3 separate regions of the Homo sapiens genome follow, and all the other regions are linked to region 2. Evidence: promoter capture Hi-C in human tissues and cell types (Jung and others, 2019). All regions are on one chromosome and are shown on one strand. The core of a region is centred on a gene start or on the middle of the fragment in contact, and the rest is flanking DNA. Distances in the headings are between cores, read along the strand shown.

Region 1 (2,700 bases), core at 48-2,547, 320 kb after region 2:
CACCCCCAGATGGAGTTTTGCTCTTTTGCTCTCTTGCCCAGGCTGGAGTGCAGTGGTACAATCTCGGCTCACTGCAACCTCTGCCTTCCGGGTTGAAGCAATTCTCCTGCCTCAGCCTCCTGAGTAGCTGGGATTACAGTAGCCCAGGCCTGGCTAATTTTTGTATTTTTAGTAGAGACTGGGTTTCACCATGTTGGCCAGGCTGGTCTTGAACTGACCTTGGGATCCGCCCGCCTCAGCCTCCCAAAGTGCTAGGATTACAGATGTGAGCCACCATGCCTGGCCTTTTTTTTTTTTTTTAACATGAGACTATTAGAGACTTTTCCAAAGATATATGTGGAAGTGATTTCTTGGGTTAATAGTTGTTTTGTGGTCTCCCTATTCTCAATGCCCAAATAAATTGTCCTCCTTAAATAAATAAATCATTTTTGTCAAAGATACCGTTTATTCCTTCCTCCCCAGCTACCAAGAAAGCTTGTTCTGTTTTATTTTACTTTTAAACTTTCATTCCATTTTACATTTTAAGATCTTAAACTCTGAAATGTATTTTCTTTCTGGTGTTTGTGCATTTTTTTGTTTGTTTGTTTGTTTTTTTGAGACAGAGTTTCGCTCTTGTCGCCCAGGCTGGAGTGCAATGGCGCAATCTCAGCTCACTGCAACCTCTGCCTCCTGGGTTCAAGTGATTCTCCAGTCTCAGCCTCCCGAGTAGCTGGGATTACAGGTGCCCACCACCACGCCTGGCTAATTTTTCTATTTTTAGTAGAGATGGGGTTTCACCATGGTGGCCAGGCTGGTCTCAAACTCCTGATTTTAGCTGATCCGCCCACCTCGGCCTCCCAAAGTGCTGGGATTACAGGCATGAGCCACCGCGCCTGGCCTTGTGCTTTTTCTTTTGTTGTTCTGATCCTGAAGATTGGGATTAGGGTCACATAGAACCTGTACATAATTCCATTGGTAATGTAATTCTTTACTAGCGAGTGGTCAAGAAAGAGCCCAAACTCCAGTGCAAGACTGCCTGACTTCAAATTCTGGCTTTGCTACTTAATAAGTAGATGATTTTAGGCAAATAATAAAGTTTTTTGGTTTTTGGGTTTTTTTGAGATGGAGTTTCACTCTTGTTGCCCAGGCTGGAGTGCAATGGCACAATCTCAGCTCACCACAACCTCCCCCTCCTGAGTTCAAGCGATTCTCCTGCCTCAGCCTCCTGAGTAACTAGGATTACAGGCATGCACCATCACGCCTGGCTAATATTGTATTTTTAGTAGAGACAGGGTTTCTCCATCTTGGTCAGGCTGGTCTCGAACTCCTGACTTCAGGTGATCCGCCCGCCTCAGCCTCCCAAAGTGCTGGGATTACAGGCATGAGCCACCGTGCCTGGCCTTGTGCTTTTCTTTTGCAGTTCTGATCCTAAAGACTGGGATTAGGGTCACATAGAACCTGTACATAATTCCATCTGTAATGTAATTCTTTACTAGCGAGTGGTCAAGAAAGAGTCCAAACTCTAGTGCAAGACTGCCTGACTTCAAATTCTGGCTTCACTACTTAATAAGTAGATGATTTTAGGCAAATAATAAAGTTATTTGTTTTTTGTGGGTTTTTTTTGAGACAGACTTTTGCTCTTGTTGCCCAGGCTGGAGTGCAATGGCACGATCTCAGCTCACTGCAACCACCGCCTCCTGGGTTCAAGCAATTCTGTCTCAGCCTCCTGAGTAGCTGGGATTACAGGCATGCACCACCACGCCTGGCTAATTTTGTATTTTTAGTAGAGGCAGGTTTCTCCATCTTGGTCAGGCTGGTCTCGAACTCCTGACTTCAGGTGATCCGCCCGCCTTGGCCTCCCAAAGTGCTGGGATTACAGACGTGAACCACTGCGCCTGGCAGGCAAATTATAAATTTTTAAACCTGATTTCCTCATCTTTAAAATGAGTTTAATATTAGAATCTACCTGCTGAAATAATTCAAATAATGTTCATTACATTTGATCTTCAAAAATCCTATTAATTCGGCTGGGCGCGGTAGCTCACACCTGTAATCCCAGCACGTTGGGAGGCCGAGGCAGAGGGATCAGTTAAGTCAGGAGTTCGAGACCAGCCTGGATAACAAGGTGAAACCTCATCTCTACTAAAAATAGAAAAATTAGCCAGGCCTGGTGGCGAGTGCCTGTAATCCCAGCTACTCGAGAAGCTGACTGAGGCAGGAGAATTGCTTGAACCCCGGAGGCAGAGGTTGCAGTGAGCTGAGACTTCGCCATTGCACTCCAGCCTGGGCGACAGAGCGACACTCTGTCTCAGAAAACCAAAAACAAAACAAAACAAACTGAATTATGTTTTACAGAAAAACAGTGTTAATTTGAGTCTGTTTGGATATAACCTATAGAAAACTCTTGAGATAAGAATTTGAGAGAGAATTACATAATTTATTACCATGTTGATGCCAGCTAATTTTTTTAAATTCTGTTTTCTAGTGTAAGACAAGGTAGATTTGTGTCTAAGTTATTTGGAAAATAGACTAAAAATAGCACATTTGGTTTCTGTCTAATAAATGTTATATAAGCAAACTTGATTTTCTTCAGTATTTGGGTTTTCTTTGTGTGAGTGAATCCTTTTGAATTATGGGCTACCATGAATTGCAGTATCTTTTAAAATAGAAGCCGTTCTAGAAAAAAGCAACTTTTTTTTTTTTTTTTTTTTTTTTTTGAGA
Region 2 (2,700 bases), core at 23-2,522:
GGCCGAGGCGGGCGGATCACGAGGTCAGGAGATCGAGACCATCCCGGCTAAAACGGTGAAACCCCGTCTCTACTAAAAATACAAAAAATTAGCCGGGCGTAGTGGCGGGCGCCTGTAGTCCCAGCTACTTGGGAGGCTGAGGCAGGAGAATGGCGTGAACCCGGGAGGCGGAGCTTGCAGTGAGCCGAGATCCCGCCACTGCACTCCAGCCTGGGCGACGGAGCGAGACTCCGTCTCAAAAAAAAAAAAAAAAAAAAAAAAAAAAAGAAAATTCAGGACCCCAGAGTGGCGTAGGGACCCAAGCCAGTGTGCAGAATCTCTGGGCCTGGGAGATCTGAGGATGGGGTAGAGCAGGGCAAGTAGGTGGCAAATCAGGCCCTGAGCACTAGCCTCTCTGTAGGATGCCACGCCGCTGGCCGCCGCAAAGTGGCGGTGTGCGCCCATGTCTCTGCCGGACCCAGGCCACCGGCCGCAGAAACGCTGCCACCTGGACGTCCCCCACTTCGCGCACGCACTCTGGTGCTTGCATATAAATAGTAAGTGCACACCCGACTCGGCCACCAGAACCTGCACACGGATGCCCACCCACGGGTTGACGTCGCGGACAACTACACCGCGGGTGCCGGGCTGGGGTGCCGGCCTGTCCAAGCCTCGAACCCAGAACCAGTTGCTGGGGACTCCAGGCTCGGCTCCGCCTCACGCTCCCCAGGTCCGTCAGCTCCGAGACTGTGGCTCTCCGAGGGGGCAGCACCTGGCCTGGCACAGGGAGGTTAATCCTATGACGTCACTGCCAACCTCCCCACCCCCATGCCCATCCCTTCGGGTTCGCGCTGCCCCGAGCGGCTCAGCTCCCGGGGTTCTGCCTTCGCTCCCGGCCCTGCGTCCTGTCCCGGCTCTGGTTCCCTGCTGAGGCCTGCGGCGCGACGGGGACGCGGAAGGGAAGGAGGAGGGGGTCCTGCGTCAGCCTCGAGTCAGGGCCCCCGGGAAGGAGAGGGTGTCTGTGCCAGAGGATGGCCCTCGTCCCCGGTGCCGGCTCCCACCCCCAGCCCCGCAGCATGGGGGCTCTAGTCACCCTTGCGGCCAAGATCAGAGGCTCGCCCGGACTAAGGGGAGACGGACTCACGAGCAGGGGCGAGCGCTGAGGCTCCGGGCTTCCAGGCCACCGCCTGGCCCCGCCCTCGCACCGCCCCGGCCCCGCCCCCTTCCCTTCCCGCCCCGCCCCGCCCCACCTCCTGCTGCCTCCTCCGACTCCCTCCCGCGCCGCTAAGTTTCTTCGCTCGCCGCCTCGCTCAGAGCCGGGGCCGGGCCAGAGCGGCGCCCCGCTGCCCTGTCCCCGCGTGCAGACCCCGGGCCCGGCCCCGGCCCCCCGCCAAGCCATGCTGTGCGGCCGCTGGAGGCGTTGCCGCCGCCCGCCCGAGGAGCCCCCGGTGGCCGCCCAGGTCGCAGCCCAAGTCGCGGCGCCGGTCGCTCTCCCGTCCCCGCCGACTCCCTCCGATGGCGGCACCAAGAGGCCCGGGCTGCGGGCGCTGAAGAAGATGGGTCAGTGACGGGCAAGGGGCGGTGGGGTGGGCGCGGACCGTTCCCAGAGGCCCAGTCTGGGGCGCTCCAGGGAGCAGTTCGTGGATTCCCCAGGCTGCACGGGGCTGGGAGGCTATGGCTAGGGGCGGAGGGCCAGCTCCCTCCAGCTGGGGGTCGCACCTGGGGTCATCCGAGGGTCCCGGGGCGAGCCGGGCGCCCAGGGTGTTCTTTGCTTCCCACCAGGGGGCGCTCGCGGGGCGTCTGAAGCGCGAATTCGGGCACGGGGCGCTGGTGGGGTCTCCAAGGAGAATGGAGCGGGAGAGGGAGGCTTGGGGTGTCCCTCGTCCGGCTCCCCAGCAGTATCTAGGTTCTGCCAGGGTGTCTCGGGGTCTTGGCAGCCCTTAGGAAGGATGCGAGTTTGCGGTCGGCCTCCGCAGAAGAGGCTGGCCTCCACAGCAGCCCTCCAAGCCGCGGCCCCACAGAGGCGGCCACAGCCACACTGCTCTGGCAGGACTGGTCTAACAGCCTACGTCCGACAGCCAAGGCTCTCACCTCAGATTTGGGGAAGTCAGTCGTGGAGAAGGAATGTAACTGTGGCTCATTGGAACATCACAGAGGCAGCTGGCACTGGGTGGGTTACACAGGTGGTGTCTTGCAATCTTCCTCGACTTCCTAGGTGGGAGGTGAATCCTCATTTCACAAGTGAGGAAACTGACTCAGAGACGGCAAGGAATTTGCCTATGACCACACAGCCAACAAAGGGCAAAGTGTGACTGGCACCCCGGTGGTGCCCCACCACATGGGCCCTGGTACCCTCTCAGAGTCTGGGAAAAGTGGGACCCGCAGGGCAGTGGAGGGCTTGAATGAGAGGGTGTGTGCGAGAATGTTGTCTGACGTGGAAAGGACCGCGCCACTGAAGTGCTGCGTTGGACCTGCCATTGGTAGAATAGTCAGTGATGGAGAGGCTAGGTGTGGAACTCCGGAACAGAAGGACAAGGCTGCCAGGGACCCCGTGTAGAACTTGGGGCAGAATTCAGGGGTCCTGATTGCCAGTTTTGCCTTCTTGTTACCTCGACTCATTCCACCTGAGCGCTGACTATGTCTGGGCGCTGTGCCTGGCACTCTGGTTACTGAGACATAGGACACCATCTCTACCCTGCCATCCATTCAACTGTGCATGCA
Region 3 (2,700 bases), core at 187-2,686, 380 kb after region 2:
ACACGGTGAAACCCTGTCTCAACTAAAAATACAAAAAATTAGCCAGGCGTGGTGGTGGGCGCCTGTAGTCCCAGCTACTCGGGAGGCTGAGGCAGGAGAATGGGGTGAACCTGGGAGGCAGAGCAGCCTCCCAAAGTGCTGGGATTACCAGGCATGAGGCCGATGCTTGGCTAACAAAATTTCTTTTTGTAGAGACGGGGGTCTTTTTATGTTGCCCAGGCCAGTCTCGAACTCTTGAACTCAAGTGATCCTCCAGCCTCAGCCTCCCAAAGTGCTGGGATTAGATTACATCTGTGAACCCTGGCACCCGGCCTCGGCTAGACCTCTTGCCTCTCCCTTGATCACAGTCCCCAGTCCCTGAGGTTCCACCTCCCCTGTCTCATGCTTGCCTCAGCTCTCTTAGGAGCTGTGGGATCCCCACACAGAAAGCTTGCTTCACGTTCTTTCACCCACCGTCCCTCCTGAGGTCAGGGCTGTCTGTTTTCTCATTGGTGGCCCTTCATCAGACTGGGACTTCAGAAGAGCAGGGCTTGTCCTCCTCATCAGACCTGACCCTGATAGCAAGGGCTGTTTTCTGCTTAGATCGGGGCAGGCCTGTGTCTCCCCCTCAAACATAGGGTTCCCTGGGGGGCCCCACCTCAACTTCATAGCTATGGCTGGCTCCTTCGGTCCATCCATTGAGGCTGGGGCCACTATTTCTGCTGCCCTGATGCCACTCTTGGGGTTGCTCTTGCTGAGGGAGCTGTGGGGCCCTGAGGGGTGGGTCTCTGGCCTCCCTTAGGAAGCCCCTTCCCTAGGAGGCCGGAGCCTCCTTCCTTCTGCTGCTCTTCTAGCTCTTTAGCCGGTTCTCTCAAATTTTCCTGCATAAGGGCCAAGTTGGGGATGCAGGGCCAAGACCTTGTCTCCGCAACTCCAGGTAAGGGAGAGGTCCTGGTTGCCCCCAGCCCTGGGGTGATACCACCGGCAGTGATTCCTGCCAGTGGAGGCCGTCCAGGCCTGGTGACCAGCCTTAAGTCCTGCAGCACAGACCATGCTAGTCAAGGGGGCAGGATTCAGGTCTCCAGGCTGGGGTCCCAATCCTGCCTCCCCCACAAACTGGCTGTGTGACCTTGAGCAAGCCCGCTGGCCTCTCTGGGCCTTGGTTTCCTCATCCACGACACAGGGGTTAGAAAACCACCCCCCTCACAGTGCTCCTCTCGGGGATGATGGCTGAGCTGCCCATGCTTGGAGCAGCGTCTGGCACATGAAAGGGGCTCAGTCACCCTGGGCTCGCACCGTCCAAGGCGCCGAGGAGCAAACCGGCTCCCTGGCCCTTGCCCAGGACCCCAGGCCTCTCTATGGCTTGGGGTCCTCGGGGTCCTCTCTCTACCCAGCACAGAGAGAACCTGTGCCTGATGTCGTGATGTGGAGGGGTGGCAGCAGGGGAAGTGCCTAGCATTTGGACAGGAAGTTCATCCTGCTTCCTCTTAGATGCCAGCCCAGGGTCCAAGGACCGTTCTTCTCATCTGCATAGCTCTCCCGGGAAACCTCATGCTCCTCCCTCTCAGGCGTCCAAGTGGCCCCTCTTTTAATCTCTGAAGCTCTCAGGCTTCACCAAGGGAGGAGTTGGGGGCACCTGGGGCACCAGGATCCCAGGCACACTCATCCTTTGGGAGGTCTGTGGGGCACAAATACAGTCACACCCATAAGGGCCCAAGTGCCACTTCTTTTCCACAAAAGGGATCCTCCTGGAGCTCAGGAGAGGGCCCTTGGGAGGGGGCCTGGGACAGGGGGTCTCACAGTGCCCCTCAGCAGCTTCATCCACAAATGCTCACCCGAGATGAGGACGCCAGTTACCAAGGGACACTGCCAGGTGGGAATTAGTGAGAATAAGCTTTATGTAAGTTTAGGAGGGAGGCCTCACAGGCATGTGTGCCTGTGGGTAATATGTTATTTGTTGAGACAATGTGCCAAGCTCTGTGCCACATACCTCACAAACACATCTGATTTCACTCTTGTGATTTCCTAGCGAGGTAGCAACTATGATTATCTCCATTTTTCGTATTTATTTATTTATTTATTTATTTTCGAGACAGTCTCGCCCTGTTGCCCAGGCTGGAGTGCAGTGGCACAATCTCGGCTCACTGCAACCTCTGCCTCCCAGGTTCAAGTGATTCTCCTGCCTCAGCCTCCCGAGTAGCTGGGATTACAGGCATGCCAGCATGCCCGGCTAACTTTTGTATTTTTAGTAGAGATGGGGTTTCACTATGTTGGCCAGGCTGGTCTCGAACTCCTGACCTCAAATGATCCGCCCGCCTCAGCCTCCCAAAGTGCAGGGATTACAGGCGTGAGCCACCGTGCCCAGCCTAGATTACCTCCATTTTTTAGATCAAGAAAACAGTTTGAGCTGGGCACAGCTGAAACTCCCCTGGGAAGGGGAGCCAAGATCCAGGATGAGAAGGAGTGCTCGGGTATACAGCACTCCTGCTGGTGGCAGGATAGGGAAAGACATAAAAGATTTGCTGGCAGTCACAGTATTTTATTATTGGAAAGGGTCCTGAAATCATCTCATCCAAGCCCCTTACTTAAAGACGAGGAAACTGAGGCCCGAGTAATAAAGGCATTTTTCTGAGGTCACAGTGAGTTGGAGGCAGCTAGCTCCTGCATTCCACCCAGCAGAAGGGAGTTGGGGTGGAGCTACCAATCGGTCACATCTGCCGA

Evidence for each region. The method cuts DNA at HindIII sites, captures the fragments that hold promoters and counts their contacts. A contact is called where the count stands out against the background at its distance.
Region 1: a fragment that was not itself captured here is called in contact with the fragment with the promoter of PLCD3 in region 2 in 1 of the 25 tissues and cell types used here (aorta).
Region 3: a contact is called between a fragment that was not itself captured here and the fragment with the promoter of PLCD3 in region 2, in 1 of the 25 tissues and cell types used here (lymphoblastoid cells).

Annotation. Positions count from the first base shown.
Region 1 is chr17:44,816,109-44,818,808 of GRCh38, reverse strand. The region is part of intron 1 of GJC1 (gap junction protein gamma 1); the gene reads left to right. Among named protein-coding and RNA genes, the nearest start is that of GJC1, 13 kb to the left of the region's middle. The HindIII fragment of the contact is 9,186 bases long and covers 1-2,700 here.
Region 2 is chr17:45,131,087-45,133,786 of GRCh38, reverse strand. It overlaps PLCD3 (phospholipase C delta 3), which reads left to right and starts at 1,272. Exons shown (of 15, transcript NM_133373.5): 1 at 1,272-1,539. The coding sequence starts at 1,377. It also overlaps a transcript of ACBD4 not described here. RefSeq lists an enhancer at 479-548 and silencers at 1,019-1,238, 1,339-1,468. The HindIII fragment of the contact is 27,952 bases long and covers 1-2,700 here.
Region 3 is chr17:44,752,067-44,754,766 of GRCh38, reverse strand. DBF4B (DBF4B-CDC7 kinase regulatory subunit) reads right to left here. Exons shown (of 14, transcript NM_145663.3): 14 at 2,503-2,700. Among named protein-coding and RNA genes, the nearest start is that of ADAM11, 5.6 kb to the left of the region's middle. RefSeq lists an enhancer at 1,207-1,707. The HindIII fragment of the contact is 3,429 bases long and covers 1-2,700 here.